Linked DNA regions of Homo sapiens: all the other regions are linked to region 1. Evidence: promoter capture Hi-C in human tissues and cell types (Jung and others, 2019). All regions are on one chromosome and are shown on one strand. The core of a region is centred on a gene start or on the middle of the fragment in contact, and the rest is flanking DNA. Distances in the headings are between cores, read along the strand shown. Region 1 holds the start of FURIN (furin, paired basic amino acid cleaving enzyme). Region 2 has its middle 29 kb from the start of NGRN. Region 3 has its middle 40 kb from the start of ZNF774. Region 4 has its middle 15 kb from the start of ZNF774.

Region 1 (2,924 bases), core at 309-2,808:
GATAATGAACATGTCCATCATTCCCAAAAGTTTCCTCCCGCCCCTCCCTGCCCCCTTCCCCAAGCAAGCACTGATCTGTTTTCCAAATACGTCTTTAATGCTACAAGGGCTCACACACCTCCCCACCTTAGAAAATGGAGTATGATCAACATGATTGATCCTTTCCTTGATTCAGCATTATCACCAACACGATGGAAAGTGATCTCAGATGTCATGAGGATGCATGATTGTTTGCCCTGATCACTAAACGGCCCATTGTTGTGCTGGCATACTGGGCAGTTTCAAGTTTGGGAGTTTTCTCCCTCACTGCTAGCTGTCTCAGAGCTTAGTTCCCAGCAGACAACTCTTGCTGCCTCGAACCCTGGCACACTAACCACCATCCTGTGACGTTCCCACTCCTCATTCTGCGACAGTGGTTCTTTGCTGGGAGAGATTTTTGTCTCCCAAGGGACATTTGGCAATACCTGGAGATCTTTTTGGTTGTCATCATGGGAGCGGGAATGCTACTAGCAGCTAATGTTTAGTGACTAGGGATGCGACTGAACATCCTGCAATGTAGAGTGCAGTGTCCCCTACAGAGAATTATCCGACCCAAGATGTTGATAATGCCAAGGTTGAGAAACCCTGTTCAGGATGACAAACTGATTGAAAACTCAACAAGGGGACCGGGCGTGGTGGCTCACGCCTAATAATCCCAGCACTTAGGGAGGCCGAGGTGGGTGTATCACTTAAGGTCAGGAGTGCGAGACCAGCCTGGCCAACATGGCAAAACCCCATCTCTACTAAAAATACAAAAAAAAAAAAAAAAAATACGAGTGGCGTAAGCCTGTAATCCCAGCTACTTGGGAGGCTGAAGCATGAGAATCGCCTGAACCCAGAAGGCAGAGGTTGCAGTGAGCTGTGATCAGGCCATTGCATTCCAGCCTGGGCAACAGAGCGAGACTCTTGTCTAGAAAAAAAAAAAACAAACCCATAAAACAAACAAACAAAAAAAACTATGAGGATTGAGTGATTCACATTTCTGAATCGAGAGAGAGAAGGATGGGCAGCAGGCTTGTTGAAGCTGGAAGGCCAGGGAGGTCGCAGACTGAGGAAGACCCTGGTGTGTCCCAGGTACCTCCATGCAACCCTACTAGAGAGGTGGTCTCTGGCTTCCTATGGACAAGCTCTAAGGGACCCAGCTATGGGGCACCAGAGCCCAGCGTTCAGCAGCTGCTCAATGAATGTCTGCCAGGCGAGACTGCACCCAAAGCATTTATTAGGTACATAATTGTGGCAGCACTGGCTGGCCATGGAAGGCAAGGCAGAACACAAGGAGCTGGAGCTGGCGGAAGGAAGTCATTAAGTCAGCCAGTGGCTGGGATGCAGCAAAGCCAGGCAGAAGGTAAGTGCAGACCCACCCCAATAAATGAGGAAAATGAGAAGGGCTGGCTGGCCATGTTAGGATCCAGTTCCAGTGCGACCAGATATGTCACCACCACATCACTTTTAGCTCCTCCCCCCACCCACAGACACCCTGTTTGCCTGTCATATAAAGAAGGTTTTCCCAAAGTGGTTTAGCCAGAACTGGAAGGGCCCCGCCCTGTGAAGGGATAGGAGCCTGACTGTTGCAGCTGCAGTGAGTGGCGGGGAAGCAGCAGCGGCCAGGATGAATCCCAGGTGCTCTGGAGCTGGATGGTGAAGTATGGACATGCTTTATTCGATTTTGCATTGACTTAAAGGTTTAATTATTTTAGGAGTTCTTGTAGACATTCCTGAAAAATGCAGGTAGGCAAAAAGAAGAAAACAAAGATCGCAAATGTGACCCTTTCATTCGGAGAGAACACCAATGGAATTTTGTTGTGCACCCTTCTATGCACGTCTGAATGTTGTGTAGACATTCTGCTTACAACTAGGTGTGGGTGCTGCTGCCGAAGGCTTTATTTGCTGTGCCTGAGGTGGACCAGAGATTTCAGAGAAGACTCCCAGAGCACCCCAAGGAGACAACAGGAGTGCTTGGAGTCAGGATGACTGGGTGGATTTAGGACTATGTGATTCTCAGGAGCCTCTCTGGATTAGCCCCAAATCAAGGATAAAGAGAGGCCTAGCTGGACTCTTCCTCCCAGAGCCCTGCTGGGAAAATGGAGCCCCTTTACAGCCCCCACTTACCCATCAGGCCCTGCTCCTCTCACTCATCTCCAGACTTCTGTCACATGCCCAAGTCCTGCTAACTGCTGTGTAAAACTGGTAAGGTGGGATCCAGAGGACCTTGGGCCCCTAGGGCCCCAGGTCAGGAGACCTGGGCTCCAGGGCCAGTTGAGAGTGATAAAGAGAACAATACCTGCCCACAGGACTTGTTGCAATGAGATAAAGGCAGAAGTCACCAGTTGTGGTCAAATGGGATTTTTTTCCAGAGAAGTCTCACAGAGAGTGGCTTTCAAATTCTTTTTAGCAGCAGAATTGTTGTAAAATACAATCTCATGTGAAACCCTAAAATGTGAGACACTCTGGGTGAAGCAGAGAGAGGTGCTCAACTGCCCAATCCTGTCCTCATTCCTCCCTCTCAGGGAGGCACCTCTGAGAACCCACTTTAAAGAATTTTGCCTTATGCAGATTGAAGAGGCAAGCTGGCTGGAAGAAACTGGGAAGCTCCACTTCCCACCGCCTCTGCCTGGGTGGCAGTCATCTGAGCCTAGGCTAGCCCCTCCCCCTCCAAAGACCCACTGCGGGCTCCCCTGGGGCCAGTCTCCAGGATGGGTGGGGCACCTGAAGCAGCAAGTATTGCTATTTTTCTGGGCTGACCTTTCTTCTAGGCCTGAGGACAAGTGGGTAGGTGGGGCCAGCCCTGTCCCTGTTTCCCCTCAATGGAGTTCTCTTGCTCACAGCCTAAGGAAGAAGCGTGAGTCACTTCCTGCCTCAGTCTGACTGCTGGAGTATTGTTCTCC
Region 2 (2,924 bases), core at 165-2,664, 570 kb before region 1:
GACCCGGCTCATTGGACCAGCTGCAGCAGCAGGAAGCTCAGGGCAAAGCAGTGGCTAAGATGGCCCGCCAAAAGTTGCAGGAGACCCAGGGGAGGGAGTTGCTGAGGACGGGGCCCCAAGAGGGACAACCTGGCAACCTCTGTGCCTTCTCACCCTCTTTCCTGGCATCTCAGGAGCACCTGGAAGCTACCAGCCAGCAGAACCAGCAACTACAGGCCCAGTTGAGCCTCATGGCTCTCCCTGGGGAAGGTACGGGACACCACTCAGAGGAAGAGGAGAGAGCCCCAGGAGGAAAGGGGGACTGTTAGCACTGTAGGATTGAGGAGATGGAAGAGACCTTTAAGACAGCTGGCCATTATGCTGACTGGGTGTCTGCACTAAGTTTGGCATCAATATGGTGACCTCCTGGGAGCGGGGGACCACCAGGTTGCCTAAGGATGGGAGAACTGGCCCAGGTCAGAAATGGAGCAGGTCAGAATTCCTGCACCAATCGGTAGTGGGACTGTGCCTGGGCAATATAGCAAGATCTTGGTTCTTAAAAGTAAAAATAAAGAACAGCTCATTCCCCTCTGGGGAGGGGCTGGCTCAAGGTTACACAGTGAGTGTGGGGGCAGAGGTGAGCCCACAGTACCTCCCTTGTTGGGTTGTCTGAGGACCCCTCTGGCCACCCCCCCACAGGAGATGGAGGAGGAGGCGCCTCAGCCCATGCCGAACATCCCAGGGGACCTGGAGAGCCGGGAGACGGTGGTGAGCCTGACTTGCCCTGCCCCCACTTTGCCACCTTCCTCTGTGGTCCCTCCCAGACCCCCTTATGTTCTTGGTTTCCCCGCTTTCTGATTTCTGTGGACTTTCACTCCTTCCGGGAGCCAGTGATCAGACACCATTTCACCTGTGACCAACAGGTGCACTCTCTGAGGCCCCAAGGGAAGGGGCTGCGCTCCACCTCCCTGCCCCAGTTGTTCTGTGTATGCCCCTACAAGAACACTCACCTCTTGCCTTCAGGTGGCATTTTTCAACTCCGCTGGAACCAGTGCCCAGGAGGAGCAAAGGATGTGCTGCCAGCCCCTGGCTCACCCAGTGGCCTCGTCCCAGAAGAAGCCAGAAGCAGCAGCCCCAGCCCCAGGGACTGGGGGTGAGTCTGTGTGTGGGGGGACCCACCGGGCCCTGCAGGGGGCCAAGGAGAAGTTGTAGATGAGTAGGTCCTGGCATAGGCCAAGAAGGGTGGGGGTGGGGCAAGGCAGGTGGCTCCTGAGACGTGATCCCATTATTTTGGCTCCAGAGCGACTTTATGGACCTCCTGAAGGAGAAGGTGGACCTGAGGGAGTGGGTGGAGAAACTAAAGCTTCAATTCATCCACCTCTCGGGAAAGACAGACACCATGAGTGAGCGGGAGGCCAGGGCACGGCAGGGGGAGCTGCAGGGCCGTCGGAGGGGCTCCAGCATCTGAGCCATGTCCTCCCGCAGGAAAGTACATCACCCCATATGGGAGCCAGGGGACAGTGCCAAAGATGCGGCACCGGGAGGAGGAGGAGATCGTCAGGCTGGCCCAGGACCGGGAGGAGATGAAGGTAGGGTGTGCAACATCTCTGTGGGGGCGGGGGTGGGGGTGAACGTGGGTGCCGGCACCAGTATGGCAGCTGAGCACCCCTCCCTCCAGGTGAACCTGCTGGAGATGCAGGGGCAGGTGTTGCGGCTTGTGAGAGACCACAATGAGGGACATGGCAAGTTCCTGGCCACTGCCCAGAACCCTGCTGATGAGCCCACTCTAGGAGCCCCAGCCCCCCAAGAGCTTGTGTGTGCTGACAAGCAGGATGGCCAGTAGAACCTTCAGGCAGGGTGAGCAGGCAGGAGCAGGGGAGGCTCGCATGGCGCTCCGATCCCCTCCTCCCTCTCTCCGAAGATCTTTGTGAGGTGAGCCTCACTGACAGCGTGGAGCCCGCACCAGGAGAGGCCAGGGAGGGTTCTCCCCACGACAACCCCACTGCACAGCAGATCATGCAGCTGCTTCCTGTAACGCAGGACTCCCCAGGAGCACCCAGGCTTGGGCAGCAATCTCTGCATGCCTTTCTTTTCGAGCTGCCGAGAACAGGGAGATAAACACCACCATCATCTAAGAGCTGGTCAAGAAATTAAAAAAAAAAAAAAGTTAAGGGGTTAATCTCCTACACAATTCATTTACTTCATTTGAATGTTAGAGCCACTCATGTTTATTTGTGTTTCTAATTTATAGTTTAAATTTTATTTGTAAAAAGTTAAAGGAGAGTGGGTCTTTTCCTCATGTTCACTCTGGCATCCTTTAGCATGTTTCTTTTTTAATTTGATAATTGTAGGTCATTAGCATGCATATCAAGTTTGCCCTTATGTGGTGGGTGTTCAAACACACAAAGACCCACTATTTGCACAAAACTATTCTTCCTGGTTTGGGATAGGCTGCCATGCTTTTTTAATGTTATTGCAGCATGTATATTTATTATGGAATTCAGATAAAATTTGCTTATGTTCTGCTATTATGTTTGATCGAATCCTAATCACAGTGAGCTCTTCATCAGCTCAATATGTGGTTTGCCCTGAAGTGCGCGGTCTATTACTTTGTAATATGCCACTGTGAGTACTGACATTTACAGTTGCTTAAAGGCGGAGCACTGGAAACAGCCTTTCCCCCTTTTTCTGTGTATTGGGGATGGGAGTAATAACATTTTGGGGAGCTTTTTAAATCTCCCAGAAGAGGAAAGTGGCCTGCTCTGGCAGGTATGTGCAGGATAGAGTGTGTTTTATTTGTTTTGGTGCCAAGAATGAGCACTGTACTATGGTAGTTCCCTTAGGATTTGTATGTGTTCTGGGCTTATGAAGATATTGCATCATGAGCTGTGGCAGTTGTACTCTTTTTTGATGACCTAAAAAGGGCTTATTTCTGAGGAATGAAA
Region 3 (2,924 bases), core at 149-2,648, 560 kb before region 1:
GGCCTGTCTTTTGAATAAAGGCTATTTTAACTGAAGTGAGATGATGTCTCATTGTAGTTTTGATTTGCATTTCTATGATAATCAATGATGTCGAGCCCCTTCTCATGTATCTGTTTGCCATTTGTATGTCTTCTTTTGAGAAGTCTCTATTCAGATCTTTTGCCCATTTTTCAGTTAGATTATTAGATCTTTGCTATTAAATTGTTTGAGCTTCTTATATATTCTGTTATTAATTCCTTGTCAGATAGGTAGTTTACAAATATTTTCTCCCATTCTACAGGGTGTCTCTTTAGTTTATTGATTGTCTCCTTTGCTGCACAGAAGCTTTTTAATTTGATGTGATCCCATTTGTCCATTTTTGCTTTGGTTGCCTGCGCTTGTAGGGTATTGCTCAAGAGATCTTTGCCCACTCCAATGTCCTGGAGAGTTTCCCTAATGTTTTTGTTCAGTAGTTTCATAGATTGGGGTCTTATAATTAAGTGTATAATCCATTTTGATTTGATGTTTGTATGTGGTGAGAGAGAAGGGTTTGGTTTCATTCTTCTGTATATGGTTATCCAATTTTCCCACCACCATTTATTGAAGAGACTGTCCTTTCCACAATGTGTATTCTTGGCGCCTTTGTCAAAAATGAGTTCACTGTAGATGTATGGATTTATTTCTGGGTTCTCTATTCTGTTCCATTGGTCTATGTGTCTGTTTTTATGCCAGTAACCATGTCACTTTGGCTACTTAGCTCTCTGGTATAATTTGAAGTCAGGGAATGTGATTACTCTAGTTTTGTTCTTTTTGTTTAGGACAGTTTTGGCTATGGCGGGTCTTTTGTAGTTCCATATACATTTTAGGATTTTTTTTTCTATTTCTGTGAGGAATGTCATCGATATTTTGATACAGATTGCATTGAGTCTGTAGATTGCTTTGGGTAGTATGGATGTTTGAACAATATTGATTCTTCCAATCCATGAACACGGAATATCTTTTCATTTGTGTCCTCTTTAATTTCTTGTATCAGTGTATAGTTTTCATTGTGGAGAACTTTGGCTTCTTTGGTTAATTTCTAAGTATTTTATTTTATTTGTAGCTATTGTAAATGGAATTGCTTTCTTGATTTCTTTTTCAGACTGTTTGCTGTTGACATACAGAAATGCCATTGGTTTTTGTATGTTGATTTTGTATCCTGCAACTTTACTGAATTGATTTATCAGTTCTAATAGTTTTGTGTGTGTGTGTGTGTGTGTGTGTGTGTGTGTGTGTGTGTAGTCTTTAGAGTTTTCCAAAATACGATTATACCATCTGCAAATAAGAATAATTTGACTTCTTCCCTTCCAGTTTGGATGCCCTTTATTTATTTCCCTTGTCTGATTGGTCTAGCTAGAATTTCCTGAACAATGTTGATTAACAGTGGTGAAAGTGGGCATCTTTGTTATGTTCTTGATCTTAGAGAAGAGGCTCTTGGTTTTCCCCCATTCAGTATGAAACTAGCTGTGGGTGTGTTGTATATGGCTTTTATTATGTTGATGTATGTGCCTTCAGTTTTTAAGGGGCTTTCATCCTGAAGGGATGTTGAATTTTATCAAATGCTTTTTCAGCATTCATTGAAATTATCATGTAGTTTTTGTTCTTCATTCTGTTGATATGATGTATCACATTGATTGATTTGGGTATATTGAATTATCCTTGCATCCCTGGGATAAATCCCACTTGGTCATGATGAATGATCTTTTTAATGTGTTGTTGAATTCAATTTGCTAATATTTTGTTGAGAATTTTTGCATCAATATTCATCAGTGATATTAGCCTGTAGTTTTATTTTTTGGATGTATCTTTCGTTTTGGTATCAGGGTAATACTAGCCTTGTAGAATGAGTTGGAAGTATTCCCTCCACCACTATTTTTGGAGTAGTTTGGGTAAGGTTGGTATTAGTTCTCTTTAAATGTTTGGTAAAAGTCAGCAGTGAAACCATCACGTCCCAGGCTTTTCTTTGCTGGGAGACTTTTTATTACAGCTTTGATCTCATTATTTGTTGTTGGTCTGTTCAGGTTTTGCATTTCATCGTTATTCAATCTTGGTAGGCTGGACGTGTTTAGGAATTTATCCATTTTTTTCTAAGTTTTCCAATTTTTTGCATGTAATTCCTTATAATATTGACTGATGATCCTTTGAATTTTTGTGGTATCAATTGTCATGTTTCCTTTTTCATCTCTGATTTTATATATTTGGGTCTTCTCTCTTTTTTTCTTAGTCTTATTTAGGCTAAAAGGTTGTCAAGGTTGTTTATCTTTTCAAAAAACCAACTTCTCATTTCATTGATTTTTTTATTGTTTTCTTCATTTCAATTTCACTTATTTCTGCTCTGGGATCTTTATTCTTTTCTTCTACTAATTTTGGGTTTGGATTGCTCTTGCTTTTCTATTTCTTTAAGATGCACTGTTACGTTGTTTATTTGATGTTTTTCTACTTTTTTTTTTTTTAGACGGAGTTTCGCTCTTGTTGCCCAGGCTGGAGTGCAATGGTGTGATCTCGGCTCACCGCAACCTCTGCCTCCCGGGTTCAAGCGATTCTCCTGCCTCAGCCTCCCAAGTAGCTGGGACTACAGGCATGCGCCACCACGCCCAGCTAATTTTGTATTTTTAGTAGAGACGGAGTTTCTCCATGTTGGTCAGGCTGGTCTCGAACTCCTGAGCTCAGGTGATCTGCCCACCTCAGCCTCCCAAAGTGCTGGGATTCAGGCATGAGCCACCATGCCTGGCCTGTTTTTCTACTTTTTTAAGGTAAGTGTTTATTGCCATAAACTTCCCTCTTAGCACTGCTTTTGCTGTATCCCATAGGTTTTGGTATGTTGTGTTTCCATTATCATTTGTTTCAAGAAATGTTTCCATTTCCTTCTTAATTTCTTCATCGACCCCACTGGTCATTCCAGAGCA
Region 4 (2,924 bases), core at 257-2,756, 530 kb before region 1:
GCAGTTTCTTACGTATCATTCCAGATAGTCTGTGAATTATAGAAAGGTATATACAGATCTTTTTTTTTCTTTTTCTTTTTTTTTTTTTTTGAGATGGAGTTTTGGTCTCATTGCCCAGGCTAGAGTGCAATGGCACAATCTTGGCTCACTGCAACCTCCACCTCCCAGGTTCAAGTGATTCTCCTGCCTTGGCCTCCTGAATAGCTGGGATTACAGGCACCCAACACCACACCCAGCTAATTTTTTGTAATTTTAGTAGAAACTGGGTTTCATCACGTTGGCCAGGCTGGTCTCGAACTCCTGACCTCAGGCGATCTACCCACCTTGGCCTCCCAAAGTGCTGGGATTACAGGCGTGAGCCACCGCACCCAGCCAACCTCATTATTTTTAATGGCTACATACTGTTTCATGGCCTTGGAATCATAATTCATTTAGACTGTCTCCTACTGATTGACATTTGGGTTGTTTCTATTTATTATTATTATTATTATTATTTTTAGAGATGGGGGCCTCACTATGTTACTCAAGCTGGAGTGCAGTGGCTATTCACAGGTGACATCATAGTGTACCATAGCCTTGAACTCCTGGGCTCAAGGGACTCTTCCATCACAGCCTTCTGAATAGCTGGGGCTACAGATGTGTGCCACCATGCCTGGCTGTTCCACTCTTTTGTTACTACAAACATTATGACAAACAATGTAATATTATCTTGTATACACAACTTTGTGTACATTCAGAAGTATCTCTAGGATAAATTCTTAGAAGTGGAAATGCTAGGTCAAAGGAGCTATTATCACCATTCATTGTAATTATTATAATTAATCTCTAAGAAGTCAGATGTTGGATCTACTTCCTTCTAAAGGCAAATAGTAGCTGTTATATCTGAGCATAAAGAGATCTTCTATATCAACTGCCTTTTGTGAGTAAAAAATTATTAAGTCCTGATACTGACATCTTGGAAAATTCCAGAATGCTGCTTCTACCTCTCCTCTCTTTTCATACCCCTTCTCTTTTCCCTATTTACATTGGCACATGACCACATTCCCACAAAATGTGTCAGTTGAGTTGGTGTCTTAGCCTGGGTTCCTTAGAAAAGAGAGCCTGAGGCAAAGCTTTATGAGAGTATAGAATCCCAGGGAGGCATGAGTGAAGGGAAAAGGGGAACAAGTCAAACAACGAGGACGAGTCAACATAAGAGCATGCATGATGGTCCTGACCACAACTTAGGCAAGCACAATTGCTTCCTCACTCTTAGAAGAAGCAACTGAGCTCGCATAGGGGAAGCGAGTCTCTGAGAAGCCAGAGTAAGCCACTGCATCTCTCCACACTCTGTGCAGTCACAGGAAGAGGCCCAGGTGGGGAGGGGGTAAGGAAGGGAATACGTTTATCTATAGGCTGCCATCTCCTATTGGTCGAAGTTTGCCCCTCAGGGTGTCAACTCCTTTTAGCTTATGAGTTGAGCCGCCCAACTCCTCCAGCAGCCATGGAGAAAGCCAGAACCCAAGACAGAAGTGTCAGCCTCTATGGCCAAGCATCAACCTGGAGGGTAAGCCACTGTGCATCCATGGGATTTGAGATGGTCCACAGGGTCTCTCATATCAATAGCAACAGGAAACCCACATGGCAGGAGGATAGGAGCAGAGATGCTGGTGCAAGGCCAGGTGCTGTGGTGTCATGCCCTTACGTGACATGAGGAACCTGGAGTAGCTACCACAGAGCAAGTCATTGTTAGAGTTCTGGCCAGAAAGCAAGGCAAGTGCAGGATTTGTAACGGCATGTAAAATGAATCTGGTACAGGGCCAGGTTTGATGGCTCATGCCCATAATCCCAGCACTTTGAGAAGCCGAGGCAGGAGGATCACTTGAGCCCAGGAGTTCGAGACCAGTCTGGGCAACATAGAGAGACCCCTGTCTTTATAAAAAAAAATTTTAAAAATTAGCTGGGTGTGGTGGTGCATATCTGTAGCCCCAGCCACTCTAGGGGCTGAGGTGGGAGGATCATTTGAGCCCCAAACATTGAGGCTGCAGTGAGCCATAATCATGCCTTTGCACTTCAGCCTGGATGACAGGGCAAGACCCTGTCTCAAAATAAATAAATAAATAAATAAAACAGAAAACAACAAAAAAAAACCAGTCTAGTACAGGTGGGAACACTGGCACTTTGCACACTGCACTCATTCTGAGATGTACATTTTATTACCTTTTTTTTGAGTTGGCGTCTCGCTCTGTCACTGAGCCTGGAGTACAGTCATGTGATCTCGTCTCACTGCAACCTCCGCCTCCCTGGTTCAAGGGATTCTCCCCCCTCAGCCTCCTGAATAGCTGGGATTACAGATGCCCGTCACTATGCCCGGCTAATTTTTGTATTTTTAGTAGAGGCAGGGTTTCACCATGTTAGCCAGGCTGGTTTCGAACTCCTGAACTCAGGTGATCCGCCCATCTCGGCCTCCCAAAGTGCTGGGATTACAGGCATGAGCCACCATGCCCAGCCATTTTATTACCTTTTAACATCATTGAAATCAGGATTTATCTCACAATTGACAGAATGTCAGAGTTTAATCGGCAGTTTTGTTCCCTTTCTTGGTGGTACATAAGTGGCCTTCTAGATGAAATAAGGTAATGTATTTAGGCTGATGTGTACCAACGTGTCTCTTGATATCCTTGGCCCAGAAATGTTCTCACAAAAGAGGCACTGCCCATCTTCTATGAGAAAGACCCACAATGAGGAAGAGCAATTGGCAAATTCATAAGCCAGGGATGTTGCATTCCCGTTGTCTATAACAAGCATTCATTACAATTACCATTAATATGACTATTTGTTGCTTATAGATATTGGTGTTGAAATGTTTGCTAATGTCAAGCCCAGGCTGTGAAACAAAAGTTCATTCATGTGCTCATGATGAGCAGTGGCTTTGGTTAGGTCAG

The links. The method cuts DNA at HindIII sites, captures the fragments that hold promoters and counts their contacts. A contact is called where the count stands out against the background at its distance.
Region 2: a fragment that was not itself captured here is called in contact with the fragment with the promoter of FURIN in region 1 in 2 of the 25 tissues and cell types used here (dorsolateral prefrontal cortex and lymphoblastoid cells).
Region 3: a fragment that was not itself captured here is called in contact with the fragment with the promoter of FURIN in region 1 in 1 of the 25 tissues and cell types used here (mesenchymal stem cells).
Region 4: a fragment that was not itself captured here is called in contact with the fragment with the promoter of FURIN in region 1 in 1 of the 25 tissues and cell types used here (spleen).

The regions. Positions count from the first base shown.
Region 1 is chr15:90,867,030-90,869,953 of GRCh38, forward strand. FURIN (furin, paired basic amino acid cleaving enzyme) reads left to right here and starts at 1,559. Exons shown (of 16, transcript NM_002569.4): 1 at 1,559-1,682. RefSeq lists enhancers at 2,091-2,924, 2,533-2,582, 2,650-2,924, 2,683-2,792, 2,730-2,924. The HindIII fragment of the contact is 14,305 bases long and covers 1-2,924 here.
Region 2 is chr15:90,293,659-90,296,582 of GRCh38, forward strand. It overlaps the pseudogene GOLGA2P8 and the pseudogene RN7SL736P. Among named protein-coding and RNA genes, the nearest start is that of NGRN, 29 kb to the left of the region's middle. RefSeq lists enhancers at 1-58, 59-559. The HindIII fragment of the contact is 7,947 bases long and covers 1-2,924 here.
Region 3 is chr15:90,310,682-90,313,605 of GRCh38, forward strand. No RefSeq gene overlaps it. Among named protein-coding and RNA genes, the nearest start is that of ZNF774, 40 kb to the right of the region's middle. The HindIII fragment of the contact is 8,060 bases long and covers 1-2,924 here.
Region 4 is chr15:90,335,744-90,338,667 of GRCh38, forward strand. No RefSeq gene overlaps it. Among named protein-coding and RNA genes, the nearest start is that of ZNF774, 15 kb to the right of the region's middle. The HindIII fragment of the contact is 7,838 bases long and covers 1-2,924 here.